5 separate regions of the Homo sapiens genome follow, and all the other regions are linked to region 4. The links are contacts of gene promoters, found by promoter capture Hi-C in blood cells and fetal thymus (Javierre and others, 2016). All regions are on one chromosome and are shown on one strand. The core of a region is centred on a gene start or on the middle of the fragment in contact, and the rest is flanking DNA. Distances in the headings are between cores, read along the strand shown.

Region 1 (2,700 bases), core at 94-2,593, 330 kb before region 4:
CAGTGGACCACTGTGCTCCAGCCTGGGCAACAGAGTGAGACATTGTCAAAAAAAAAAAAAAAAAAGGAAAGAAAAACATTTCTGTTACAGTTTTACCATAGCATAGGAGTATAACAAAGCTTTTAAGTTTTAAACTCAGAATTATAGCTTGAGGAGAACTTCTAAAGTTATTTTAATCCAACTATTAACCGTTATTCTTCTCTGATACAGTGTTCTTTATTATCTTTAAGGCTTTCCACTGAAAGATATTAATGGCTATTTCCATTGCTCATTTGTATTTGTAAGGACATTTAGAATTGGTGAAAAAGCACTGAAGCATATATGAGTCCCAGTTGAGAAAGCCAGGCAAAGCACGCTGTGACTCTGGAATGCACTGAGTCCTTTGGCTCCTGGTCACCTTGACAGGCTACTGCCCATCAACATTTCAGTCCTAGATTTATAGGCTCTTTATTTTTAGATAGTCCATTCTTAATGGTCGTTTGGGCATAGTTTTTCCGTATTTTAATTGAAATATCTTACCCTGTTCTGAAAATGATTATCTTTTCCCAGTGTCAGAAATTACGAAGTTACATTGTAGCAGTTGGTTTCACTGCTATCATTCTCCTACTTCTAGGTTACTCTGAAAAATAATGACTGAGATGGGAGAGAGTAAATTATTTTCAGGATTTTTTATTTTGAGGTTGGGGAGTTTATACTGTGGGCTTGTAAATAAGTGTTAAATAGTAGTCACCTGTAAGTCTATTTTTTAAAAACAGAAAAATGTGGAGAATAGCCTATGCACAAAGATAATGGCAGAATTATTTACAGTTTAAAGACAAAGCAACTAGATTTTGACTTTTAGAAATTTAAAAGGAAATGATGAGAAGGATATTTATGCTAGGTTGCTTATTATAGTGAAGACTAGGAGACAACCTTTTATACATGTATAAGTCAAATTCTTCTTATAAGCACCAAAAATCAACCCTAATTTAAGCAGAAAAGGGATTAAAGGGCATTAGGAAAATGTAGGTGTCTTCAGACCAGTGTTAGAGGCTTCAGAGCCAAAGGCATAGAATTGGCCCAATGAAACTATTACTGCCGCCACTGCCAAGCACAAATCACCTCACACTGCCAGTGCAACTTCTAGAGCTGGATATAGCTGTGGCACTTTTGCCAGAATAAATTATCTGTGATCACTGCTTCTTTGAATCACTAACTTTCCATGCAGAGTGTAAAGCACATGTGTCTGGTTGATAGACCCAAGTCACACATGGGTCACACAGCTACTCCCAAGCTGCAGGGAAAAATGGGAAAGAGAAGTCTAGCACTTAGTATCTCCACAGTGAGAGGCAGGCTCTAGCTGATAAGGTTGGAGGTTTTTCAAATGCAAAAAAGTTCATATGGTAGGCAGCCAAAAAGAATTACAGATGACTCACTATACTTGGTTAATGTTAATATGAGGGAAAGCTAAAAAGTATGTTAACAGAAGAAAATAAAGCTAAGTGAAAAATACAGCCTTCATTTTTGTTTTGTTGTTTTTGTGGGGTTTTTGTTTTTTTGTTTTGTTTTGTTTTGTTTTTTGAGTCAGAGTTTTGCTCTTTCACCCAGGCTGGAATGCAATGGCACACGAACACAGCTCACTACAGCCTCGACCTCTGGGGCTCAGGTGATCCTCCCACCTCAGCCTCCTGAGTATCTGGGACTACAGGCATGTGCCACCATGCCCTGCTAATTTTTGTGGTTTGTTGTTGTTTTGTAGAGATGTGGTTTTACCATGCTACCCAGGCTAGTTTCAAACTCCTGGGCTCAAGTGATTTGCCCACCTCAGCCTCCCAATGTGCTGGGATTACAGGCATGAGCCACCATGTGCGACCCAGCCTTCGTTTTATTAAATTTTGTAACACTAATTATAAGCCAATGGGTTGTTTTCTCTTCTTTCACCTTGGGTATTTTGCAGAGTTTCTTTACTTAGCGTTTTTTGCTTTTAATATAAAATGTCCAACTGGTCAAAAAGACTTTATTCCTTGTGTATTTTTTTCATTTAAAAATTTTTAATTATGGTAAAATACCATAAAATTTACCATCTCAACCATTTTTAAGTGAATAGTTCAGTAGTGGTAAGTGCACTCATAGGCTTATGCAGTCAATCTCCAGAACTCGTTTTTCATCTTAACAAAACTGAAACCCTGTACCGATTAAACAGCTCTCCATTTGCTTCTTCCCACAGCCTCTGTCTCTGTGAATTTGACTACTCAAACACCTCACATAGGTGGAGTCATACAAAATTTTTTGTGACTGGCTTATTTCACTTAGATTATATCCTTGAGGTTCATCCATATTGTAGCGTGGATCAGAATTTTATTCATTTTTAAGGCTGAATAATATTCCATGTAATATTGCATGTGTATACCACATTTTGCTTATTCGTTCTTTGGTTAATGGACACTTGAGTTGCTTCCACCTTTTGGCTGTTGTGAATATGCTGCTGTGAACATAGGTATGCAGATCTCTTTAAGACCCTGCTTTCAGTTTTGGGGATTATATGCCAGGAGTGGAATTGCTGGATCATATGGTAATCTTAAGCTTAACTCTTTGATGAACCACCATACTGTTTTCCAAAGCAGCTCCCCCATTTTACATTCCAACCACCAGTGTATCAGGATTCCGGTTTCTCCACATTACTGCCAATACTTGTTGTTGTTGTTGTTGTTTTAATATAAT
Region 2 (2,700 bases), core at 167-2,666, 350 kb before region 4:
TGGTAGCCATTGAGTGACCTTGACAGGAGCAGTCAGTGGCATAAGAAGAGCAAAAGTCTGGGCTCTAGAGAAGGGGTAAGGAGAAGAATTGGAGGCAGAAGATGAAAGGAACAAGTTTCCTTCATTTAACAGTTGCTTTTAAAAAATAAAATGAGTTAACAGCAAATACAATTAGTTGTTTTACATGAACATTATTAAAATTTTGGAAATCTCATTGGTGTTTCATGGTTGCTAAATACCATGTATATGCTAATATGAATTAATTTCAGGTATTTTGATTACAGATTTAGTATATTTCTGTGTAAGATAACTGACAGAAACTATTAAGGAAGTTCCTCTCTATTCCTAATTTAAGGTTTTATCATTTTTTTAAAGTGTGATTATTTTTTATTTTTTCCCTGCATTTATCAAAAATGGCTCTAAGATTTATCTCCTTTATTTGTGTTAGATTACATTGATAGATTTTTTTCTGATGTTGGACCATCCTTTCATTCTTAGGAAAAAATCCTTCTTGGTCACATTAAGTTTAATTGGTATTACTATTACTGTTCTTATTTTGTGCTTTTTAAAATTAAAAATTTGATTTTATCAAGTTTTATTTTAGAATAAGATTGATTTTTTTAATTGTCTCATATCATCATTGTCTAATTTTGATGTCAAGGTTATATTAGCCTAATAAAATGAGTAGTTTTACCTCTTTTACTATTTTTTTAAATAGTTGACGTATGAAAAGATTAGCTGTTTCTTGAAGATCCAAGAAAGCTACATTTGAAAGCATCTGGGCTTGGTGTTTCTTTCAAGAAGGGGACATTTAGTTAGCAATTTAATTTCTTTAAGAGTTAGTGACTTATATAGCTTTTCTATTTCTTGGGTCAATTTTGGTAATTTTTCTTCCTGGAAAATTACCCATTTCATTTATTTTCAAATAGATTCACATAAAGCTTATTGTAATTTTTAAAAATCTCTGTTGTATCTGTAATTATGCCTTTTTCTCTCCTCGTATTCTTTTTTCTTGACCTCGTGATCCACCCGCCTTGGCCTCCCGAAGTGCCGAGATTACAGGCGTGAGCCACCGCGCCCGGCCTCGTATTCTTTTTTCTATCAGTTTTGTGATGTTTGTTTTTTAATAGGTTTCTAAAAGAACCAACTTTTAATTTGATTCTCTTTAGTTTCTTTGTTATCAATTTAATTTCAAAAATTAATTTTCTTACCTTTCTTCTACTTCCTTAAGACTTACTCTTTTTCTGTTTTCCTAAATTGAAATGCTTCATATTGCATTCTGTTTTTCAATTGCTGTGGATTTATGTTTTTTCAATGTATTATTTATTATTTATTATTCTTTTTGAGGCTCCAGTTGTCCAAAATGTGGCCTGTAGAAACCCCTTCAGTTGACACTTGTATTCTTTTGACATGTCTCCATTAAACTTTGAGCACTTCCTTATTTTCTGGCATAAGATTTCCCAAACCTACCATGTATTTTCTCCCTGCTCTAGCCTTAGAATTAGCCATTTACTAATGGCTAATTAGTCTTGACTGAAGGGCTGTCCGGTGTCTTTCTACTTCACCATTTTTTCTATCTTTAGAGTTCAGCATCTTTGCCATGATAAAGTTAACACATATCATTCTCCTTCTATTTTATAACAGCTTTCATTGTTAAAATGATTTAGTGGTGGGTCACTTGGGGAGTGGGAAGGAGTGCTTCTTTTTACCACTAATGGAGTGATACTGTACCAGTAACCTTCTCAAAATCTGAAGGTAAAGCCATCCTTACCTCAGCTCCATTGGGTAGTATATGCCTTTGAAACAACTGGACTAAGATACCTGGCTAAAATGGATGGCTTTAGCTGTGTACGCTAATGATATTGCTAGCTGAAATTGAAATGAAAGCTTAAAACACTGAGCAGGTATCCCTGGGACGCAACAAAAACCAAAAGTAACCTGGAGTACTTAATGAATATTATATAAAACCTCAGTTTCCATGGGAGTAATTCCTTTAGAAGAGTTACTTAGAAAGCTGTTGAGTTCTGCTTGAATTTCGTTAAGGGAGTCAAAAATCCTATTGCTTTCAGAGTTATTTTGGTTCAGATAAGCTCAGTTTATTTGGATATATGACAGAAAAAATGTTAATCAGGAAGGAATGTAAAGTTAAGAAGATGAGTTTTGGAGCCCGCTCTGTTGCTTTTGGCTCTGTGTTGGCTATGACTCTCAGTAAGAATGAGTATTTAAAAGTGACAGAACCCAGCTCCATGACCTAGAATGTGCTAGAAGCTACAGGGTAGTAGAGAGATAATCCTGACTCTACTTCAAAAGTTTTAATGGAAATTACAGAACAGACAATCCTGAATCTAGAAATGCAAAGGCAGCTCCTATTGCTATTTTACAGTTTCAGAATAGATTTTTAGTCATCTTCTGACTTATGATGGTGATATGAGGGGATTATTGATACAGATATCATGTCTCACCACTTTAAAGATCAACTGTAGATTTTGTAGAAATGCTTTAAAAATGAATGAAAAATAAATATATAAGCCTCCAGTATTTGATCTTCAAATAATTACTCAAAAAATTAACTGTATGGAATGAGGAGGCACACACCTATCTATAGTCCCATCTACTTGGGAGGCTGAGGCAGGAAGATTGCTTGAGCCCAGGAGTTTGAGTCCAGCCTGGGCAACATAGTGAGACCCTGTCTCTTAAAAA
Region 3 (2,700 bases), core at 111-2,610, 400 kb after region 4:
GTGGAGAACCGTCTGCACACACTCACCAGCTGACATGCACAACATAGTTCACAGCAGCAATGTTTAGAACAAAAACTGGAAATAATGCACATGTTAAGAGGCAGCAGGATGGATACATAATGAAGTATATTAAACAATGGAAAATTACGGTCCGGGCGCCATGGCTCACGCCTGTAATCCCAGCACTTTTGGAGACCGAGGCGGGCGAATCACGAGGTCAGGAGTTCAAGACCAGCATGAGCAACATGGTGAAACCCCGTCTCCACTAAAAAATACAAAAATTAGCTGAGCGTGGTGGCGCGCGCCTGTAATCCCGGTTACTTAGGAGGCTGAGGCAGGAGAATCACTTGAACCCGGGAGGCAGAGTTTGCAGTGAGCCGAGATCGCGCCACTGCACTCCAGCCTGGGCGAAGAGCACTACAGCCACCTGTAGGTGAATATGAAAAGCAATGCTGAAAGAAGCAAATTGCTGGAGAATACATACGCAATTCCAAAAGCTTCAAAATTGAACGAAACAAGATAGTGATACATACATTATGTGGTAAAGCTATAAAGAAAACCAAGGCAAGCTGATATAAAAAATTCAGAAAATAATTATTAAAAACTTAAGTCATTAACGTTTAGAGAACTGAAATGTCTCTATTTTCCAAATTAATACTCCTGATAATAGCATCAGGTCTTTCCTGATCTTGCCCACTGTCGCAGCTCCCAGTGACACCCCGTTATTGTATTTATTTTTCAAGGACTGAACCATCTGACAATTTGTATGTGCTGCGTAATACATGTATCCTCAGTAGGGGATAGCTTTCAAGGCTAGCGCTTGGCGACGCTCTGACAGTAGAGTTCATTATCTATTGAATGAATATATGCGCTTTGGCACACGTTGGTTCAGCACTACTCATTTTAGTCCGAATCCTTCTCGTGGCTTCCGTTCAGTCGCCGCCCAAACCCCTGCCCCATCTCGCAGGCTCTAAACTCCCTGGACTCGTTCCCGAGTCCCAGACGTAGTTTTCTCCTAGACTCTGCACTGGGCCAACAGAGTGGGAGAAAGGTGGAAGGTCTGGATTGGGAGAAAAGCGCTTCCCAGGCGTCCAAGCATGTGAAGAGAATGAGGTCTTTTCATTCAACAAGAGACCGTTGAATGAAGGCCCCTCAGCAACAAGGCCCGTCAGCCCTAACGCCATGAGGAACGCGCGGCGCTGACGGTACAGTGGCTGGTTAACTAAACCGGATTGCTACCGGCCACCCCGGTGACGTCACGACCTCCTCGAACTCCTGATTGGAGGAGCTGCGTTTGGTCAATTCTCGCGATGACTCCTCCAGGTTACCCCTCTCTCCCTCCCTTTGCCCTGACCCGGTAGTCGACCGTGGACCGCGCTGCGAGCCTCGGAGACGCCGTAGAAGGAGACCTGCTTCCGGGACTGGACCAGGCGCCTGCGACTCTTCTCAGACGCCGACGTGCACGAGGTTTGGCTCCCAGGTGTCCTGCCTGCCAGACCCGCGGTAGCTCGGCTCGGCCAGTTTTGCTAGGGCTGCCTGGCGAGCCACACCAATTCCCATCCTTTGGTATCGCCAGGATTCGGCGGCTGTGAAACTGATTTCCGGTCGCTAAGGTCTCCATGGAGACAGCACTTTAACCACTTTCTCCCACTGTCATTCCTCGACTCCACGTGGTTCAGAAATCGCCCAGAGAATGTTTGTGGGAGTCAGCCAGGAAGGTGTAGAGTGAAGCAGCGTTCTAAAGGGAAGCAGTAAGTGGGACCTAGGAGGAGTGTAATTTACTGGGCACCTTCTGGCCTTGCGGTAGACACGGGATTTACCCCCTTGGGGACCCTGGTTCTTCAGGACACACGTTTAGGCATCATTTGAGCAGGCATAATTACCGAGTCTGCTTTTGTGTAGCCCTCAGAATTGCAAGAGCAAATCCTCCTGCAAACTTGCTTACCTTTCACCAGAGAATAGTCTCCCTAGTTAGGTTTCCCAGTCTCTTCTGGCTTTGTACGATGGTCACTTTCTTAGGAAGCGTGCCTCTATTCCTCTAGATCTGACTATCCCTTTACAAATTATTCTGTTGTCGACACTTTCCTAGCTGCGTCCATTTTTGGTTAAGTGGTTGCTCACCTGCCATTACTGTATGGATTTCTTACTTCCCAAACAGACCATAGGTTCTTAAGATGTAGAATGTCACTTAGATGTAGAATGCATTTTAGGTACCAGATAGTCCACCTTCCTGCCCTTAAAGACATATATCCCTTCTAGAACATCTCTGACAAATGTTTGTTAATTAATTTGTTTATTCGTGAAGTGTTTGTTAAACACCTACTATGTGCCAGGCACTGGTTTGGAAATTGAGACTTGAAACATGAACAAAATAGATTAAAGTTGCTGCCTTCATTCAGTTTGCTACTAGGTGAGACAGACAATATACAAATTTACAAGTTAGGGTAATTTCTGGTACTAGTAAGTGCTATGAAGAAAATTAACGGAAATGGTGTCTACGTGTGTTGTATTGGTGAGATTTTAGATAGAGTGGTCATGGAAGGCTTTTAGAAGGTAATGTTGCAGCAGAAACATGAATGGTGAGAAGGAGTCAGTCTTGCAAAGATGTGGAATGAACATTAAGGGGCAGAGATACTGAGAAGTGTAAAGCCTCTTAGGTGGGAATAAGAGCATCAGGAAGTACAAAGCTCTTGAGATGGT
Region 4 (2,700 bases), core at 36-2,535:
CCAGTGGGATAAACAGTCACTTCGGAAATGACCGTGGGAGGGCTTCCAGAGGAAATACCCGCCGCGTTTGCCTCGTGATAGGTAGGGGACAGGCAGGTGTAGAGGGAGTGGAAGGCTGTTCTCAGCTTCCCACGTGTGCACAGGGAACCGATCCAGTCTGTAAGCCCTGTGAAGGCAGCGACGTGGTTTTTTTGTTTTGTTTTAGACAGAGTCTCGCTGTGTCACCCAGGCTGGAGTGCAATGGCGCCATCTTGGCTCACTGCAACCTCCACCTCTCGGGTTCAAGCAATTCTCCTGCCTCAGCCTCCCGAGTAGCTGAGATTACAGGCGCCCGCCACCACGCCCGGCTAATTTTTTGTATTTTTAGTACAGATGGGGTTTCACCATGTTGGCCAGGCTGGTCTCCAACTCCTGACCTCAGGTGATCCACCCGCCTCGGCCTTCCAAAGTGATGGGATTACAGGCGTGAGCCACTTCGCCAGCGATGGGTTTAACTTGCCAGTTTTCTCCCCATATTTGGCTGGAGACTCTTAATTACATTGTTCTTTTACTTCTCACATGTATATGTGCATTTACTGAAGGGAGAGGCGCGGTAGGGGTGGAGGGTTGGGGAAGAGAGTCAGTTCAATTCCAGCTTTAAAACTATAGGATTTTTGGTAGAATTCATTTATTTTCTAAAGCGAGGCCCCGCGTACGCGCTTAGGGTGGGGACCTGCGCGTTCCTTTACACTGTTCCCAGGCCCTGATAATCCACATCCTATCATGTTGAACCTGGGAGGCAAACGGCAAGGTGCAAAAGACCTCCACGGTTTCTCCGGCCCGCGTTTCTGAGAGTGAAGGGCCGTTCCTATTGGACATGGCGTCAGGGCTGAACGTTAGCAGCAACATCTGCACTCGGGGGCGGGGGAAACCTTCCCACGTCCTGGGATCTTCATAGTCGGCTCTCCTCGAGAGTTCTCGGTATTTTTACTAGTTGGCCTCCCACAAGCCTCTGCGCCAACCTGGGAGGAGTTGACCTCTTGCGGCTCTACCAACAGAGGAGTGCAGGGGTGCAGCGAATGAACACGATGCCCAGATCGGAGACGGAAGACGGAAAAGAAAAGCTTCGATAATGAATCAAGCAACATCGTTTATGTAAATATTACATTGGGTCTTCTGTCCTCGGAGAAGTGCGGTTTTCCATCTTCCAACCTAAAACAATCCGTCGCTCCCCCCACATTTGGCACGCCCGGCAGTTGGTCTCTGCCGCGCCAGGCTACCCTGCGGTCACATGCTCCTCCTGTCCTTCTGGCGGAGCGTGCTTCCCGCTGCGGGGACGTTCGAGCAATGGCAGCCCTGCTGAGATCCGCGCGTTGGTTGCTGCGTGCCGGGGCGGCCCCGCGCCTCCCGCTCTCCCTGCGCCTCCTCCCTGGCGGCCCGGGCCGGCTGCATGCCGCCTCCTATCTGCCCGCCGCTCGCGCCGGGCCCGTGGCCGGGTGAGTGCCCAGGCCCTTTCTCCAGGCAAGCTGCGGCGCCAGGGTCCCCCGGGGTCGTGGGTGCCGGCAGGGACCGGGTCCTGCCTGTGCTCGCCACCCTTCTCCCCGCCCCAGGACCTAGCCTCCCCGGGCTCCGCACCACGCTCCCTACCAGGGGTTTTCGGGTGACAGGGTTAAGCGCCTTCAGAAGGTCACGGCTGTGGGCATGGCCTGCCTCCGGCTTGAATCCTGCCCCCGCCACTTCAGCCTGGACCTTACTGCCCTCGGGGTACCCATGGTCAACGAAGATGAGGGGGGCTTTGAAGACTGCTTTGGGAAGTCGGGTGGTGGTCTTTTCCTTACACTTGGCCAGCTTGGGTGGTGTCCCACGTGCGGTCACCGTTGGTGATCAGTAACCACCTAGCATTTAGATATTGGAAATTTAGCTTTTTGCGAGGGATGGGGCGGCGAGGAGTGGGTTGGGAGTTTGGGTGAGCCACGGATGACTTAAAGCTGGACGCTGGATTATGATCACTTTGGGCTTTTGCCTGCGTTCTCTTGAATGGAGTTTTCCTTCAGCATTTAAGAAGGTGTTGCGCGAGTTGGGCTGGAGTGCAGTGGCGCGATCTCAGCTCACTGCAACTTCCGCTTCCCGGGTTCAAGCGATTCTCCTGCCTCAGCCTCCCGAGTAGCTGGGATTACAGGTGTGCGCCACCATGCCAGGCTAACTTTTGTACTTTTAGTAGAGACTGGGTTTCACCATGTTGGCCACGCTAGTCTCGAACTCCTGACTTCAAGCGATCCTCCTGCCTCGGCCTCCCAAAGTGCTGGGATTACAGGTGTGAGCCACCGCTCCCGTCCTGTAAGTGTCTTTGAATGAATGAGCACATGCAAGGCACTCTGTTGGAATCTGGGGATGCAAAGGCAAGTTAAACTCTAAGTGGGTGTCAGATAGGCGAATAAATGCTCTCATGGTTTGAGGTTTATCAGAGATAGGTTTGGTATAGACTTTTGTAGTGGAGGGGAAAAGAAAAGTTGGTGAAAGTGTTCATTTGGTTATTAATAGTATTCTGACCACCAGAGAAGGGGAGATAGGTGCTGAGCTTTTAGCATTGGAGAAAAAATGATTTTGAAAGACTGATGCTTGTAAATTAAGGTACTTTGAGAGCTCGCGTAAGGACTGAGAGCCAGGGATCTGCAGTAGGCTGGGCCCAGACTGCAGCCTACTCCAGATTTATCTGCATTT
Region 5 (2,700 bases), core at 134-2,633, 400 kb before region 4:
TCATACATTTAAAACCACAAAACTTCTATACAAAAAAGTAAATACAAAAAAATTATCTTTTCTAATAGTAAATAAGTTATCTAGAGGTTTATTTTCCAAAATTAAAGAGATTTTTCCACGTCTTTTCACTTAGAGCATAAACCAATTCAGAAGGTAAGACTGATCCTTTCATCTCTGAAAATTTGCAATGAATATAATCATCCCCTGATATTCAAAATGAACTTACAATTGAAATTAATGGTTCTACTAAACCATGACCATACCTTTTTTTACTGTATCTACACATATCAGGTTTTTGTGACTAGAAAATGTTTTAGTTAAGCTGTTTTTTCTATTACTAGGAAGCATTATTAACCTAGAAACAAATTCTTAAAATAAATAGATAATTCCATCTCTTGGTTCTCTCATCTATTAGAAACTTTTTTCCTCATTCTAATTGTCCTTTAACATACTACCATGGTGGTGATTTATGAACTGATACTCTTGTATGGAACTTTCACTCTCTATCAAAAGTACTTCTTTATTTAAAGCTAGAAGTAGAAAAATTAAACTGATATTTTTAAAAATTAAAAAATCGGCCAGGAAAAATCTATTTTTTTGTATTTTTGAATTACTGAATATATTAAATATATTATAAATGAATCAAATAGAAATGTTTAGACACATCTTTATATGTCTACATGGTAAAAGCTTAGGGTTATTATTTGAGCTATTTATCCTAATTATATTGGGCTATGACAAAGAATTATGATTGTGGCGCCCTCTGCTGGGTTTTCTAGTCACAAACTCAATATCACTATTGGCATAATAAAATCAAATTTTTGAGGCATCAAGTGAAAAATCACTTTTTCAGTCCATGGTTACTTTACGTCCAAGATTATATAAAAGTCATAATCAATATTTACTTTATTGGAACAGGACTTTACCAATTTATCATTAAATGAAACATCTATATAGATTTTTCTGTTAAAATAAAAAGTAAACATAAAAGGTACACAAAACAACATATTTTAAGAGGTCTTATTTTTGTCACCACTTCTATCACTCAGCAATATATCCAGGTTTTTAAGGCAACATTTATAATGAGGCATTTTAATAAACAGCTATTTTGCTAATTTTATCTAATTTTTCTGCCCTGTTAGTTCAATTAAAATAGTATAAGACAGAATAATCCTAATAATATTATCTTCTTTATTAGGAAAAAACCAAAAGAGGTTATATAGGTACTCATCGCCAGTAATAATTAATAACTTTTATTGCATATCAACTCTCAGCCATGCAGTATGTACGTACTTTCTTTATAACACAGCCAGCCCTAAGAGATGAAAACAGTTGAGGTTCATAGAGATGATACAAATTGCTCAAGATGAATTTCAGAGCCAGAAGTCAAATGCAGGTGAGTATCATTCCAAAGTCTTAAACCTTTCTACCAAACAAGAGACAACAGTGAAAAAACACCCTGAATATGCAATATTTCCGTTTGTTCATGCAACAACAACACGGGGTATGGAACAAGTTGATGGGAAAAAATGTTAGAGAAGGCTAAGACAGTCATTCATGCCTAAAATAATAATTGATGCCTTTAGGAAATTATTTTTATTTTACATAATGCTGTCAGCTAGTGGCCCTATTTCATACGGAGCCAACTGGGAACAATACTTGACTTTTACATTACTGAATCAAAAATTCCACATTTAACATTCTAGAATCATTTTCTGAAATTACATATGTTTAAGCCTGACTCAATGATATTTAACATTACCCCAGAACTAAAAGAGTATGTATCCTCAACCATCATTGGTATGCTTTGCCCAGTCCTTGCCTAGACCTAATAAAAATATGAGATACACCTAAGTGGGAGAGAATTCACTAAATGCCAACATGGAAAAACTAAAAGGCATTCGGGTTCAAGTTGGTGTTTGGAAAATTTAAAAAAAAAGAAAGAAACTAAAAGGCACATCAGTCACTATCCATAAAAAAGAAACCTACATTATTTTAGGTATTTAGGATAATTTAAGGACATTTATAGATTCCTTAGTGAACCACAAATATTTTTCTATAAAATCAAAAGCTTATCATAATGTGGACATAAGAACAAAAGTGTTGTCTGAGTATTACTGAACACAATTCTATGCAAATCTATTTATTTGATAAAACTGCATTGTTAAGCCAAAGACACTACCTAAATTCAGCCAAAAGTTAACAGTTCTGAAATTTTCTTTGAGAAAAAGAGTATGAGTACTATTTTTACATTTAAAATGCTCATATTTCATTGACAATTCACTATCTTAAGAGAAATGTCCTATACAAAAAACATAAAAAGTCCATAGCTCCTATGATGGTATGCTGTTTAACTCAGTGACATAAAGGTATTCTTGGCTGATGTCTTTCATCACATGAAATTAATTACAAGAATTATAAGAAATATTTAAGTGATTTTCTCAGTGGACAAATCTATCACCAATTAATCAGAAGCTTTGATGAAAAGGCAATATATTCTGTAATATTGTAATACTGCATCAAACAAAAACACTCTGGTATTAATGTATAGTAGCATCAAGAAAAATATGTTCTGGGTTTATTCTACAGTGAAAGTAAAGAAGCAGGGAATGGCAAAGAAAGCACCCGAAACAAAGCAAAGAAGGAAGAAACAGCCCCACTACTGAATTAACTGAGGTCAAAATGGAAACAAAAATAAAA

The links. The method cuts DNA at HindIII sites, captures the fragments that hold promoters and counts their contacts. A CHiCAGO score of 5 or more calls a contact.
Region 1: a contact is called between a fragment that was not itself captured here and the fragment with the promoter of LRPPRC in region 4, in 1 of 17 cell types (non-activated CD4 T cells). The highest score is 5.1, in non-activated CD4 T cells.
Region 2: a contact is called between a fragment that was not itself captured here and the fragment with the promoter of LRPPRC in region 4, in 12 of 17 cell types (activated CD4 T cells, total CD8 T cells, naive CD4 T cells and 9 more). The highest score is 11.5, in activated CD4 T cells.
Region 3: a contact is called between the fragment with the promoter of THADA here and the fragment with the promoter of LRPPRC in region 4, in 14 of 17 cell types (megakaryocytes, naive CD4 T cells, naive CD8 T cells and 11 more). The highest score is 10.6, in megakaryocytes.
Region 5: a fragment that was not itself captured here is called in contact with the fragment with the promoter of LRPPRC in region 4 in 5 of 17 cell types (total CD8 T cells, naive CD4 T cells, fetal thymus and 2 more); the score reaches 8.3 in total CD8 T cells.

Annotation. Positions count from the first base shown.
Region 1 is chr2:44,323,749-44,326,448 of GRCh38, reverse strand. The region is part of intron 10 of PREPL (prolyl endopeptidase like); the gene reads left to right. Among named protein-coding and RNA genes, the nearest start is that of PREPL, 36 kb to the left of the region's middle. The HindIII fragment of the contact is 2,443 bases long and covers 122-2,564 here.
Region 2 is chr2:44,348,067-44,350,766 of GRCh38, reverse strand. All of the region lies in intron 1 of PREPL (prolyl endopeptidase like), which reads left to right. Among named protein-coding and RNA genes, the nearest start is that of PREPL, 12 kb to the left of the region's middle. The HindIII fragment of the contact is 946 bases long and covers 944-1,889 here.
Region 3 is chr2:43,594,698-43,597,397 of GRCh38, reverse strand. THADA (THADA armadillo repeat containing) reads left to right here and starts at 1,360. Exons shown (of 38, transcript NM_022065.5): 1 at 1,360-1,467. The HindIII fragment of the contact is 4,194 bases long and covers 500-2,700 here.
Region 4 is chr2:43,994,574-43,997,273 of GRCh38, reverse strand. LRPPRC (leucine rich pentatricopeptide repeat containing) reads left to right here and starts at 1,285. Exons shown (of 38, transcript NM_133259.4): 1 at 1,285-1,475. The coding sequence starts at 1,327. RefSeq lists enhancers at 1,008-1,287, 1,083-1,734 and a silencer at 1,388-1,707. The HindIII fragment of the contact is 4,663 bases long and covers 1,106-2,700 here.
Region 5 is chr2:44,390,611-44,393,310 of GRCh38, reverse strand. All of the region lies in intron 3 of CAMKMT (calmodulin-lysine N-methyltransferase), which reads right to left. It overlaps LOC124905998 (a long non-coding RNA gene), which reads right to left. Exons shown (of 3, transcript XR_007086301.1): 1 at 1-2,700. Among named protein-coding and RNA genes, the nearest start is that of CAMKMT, 30 kb to the right of the region's middle. The HindIII fragment of the contact is 1,381 bases long and covers 693-2,073 here.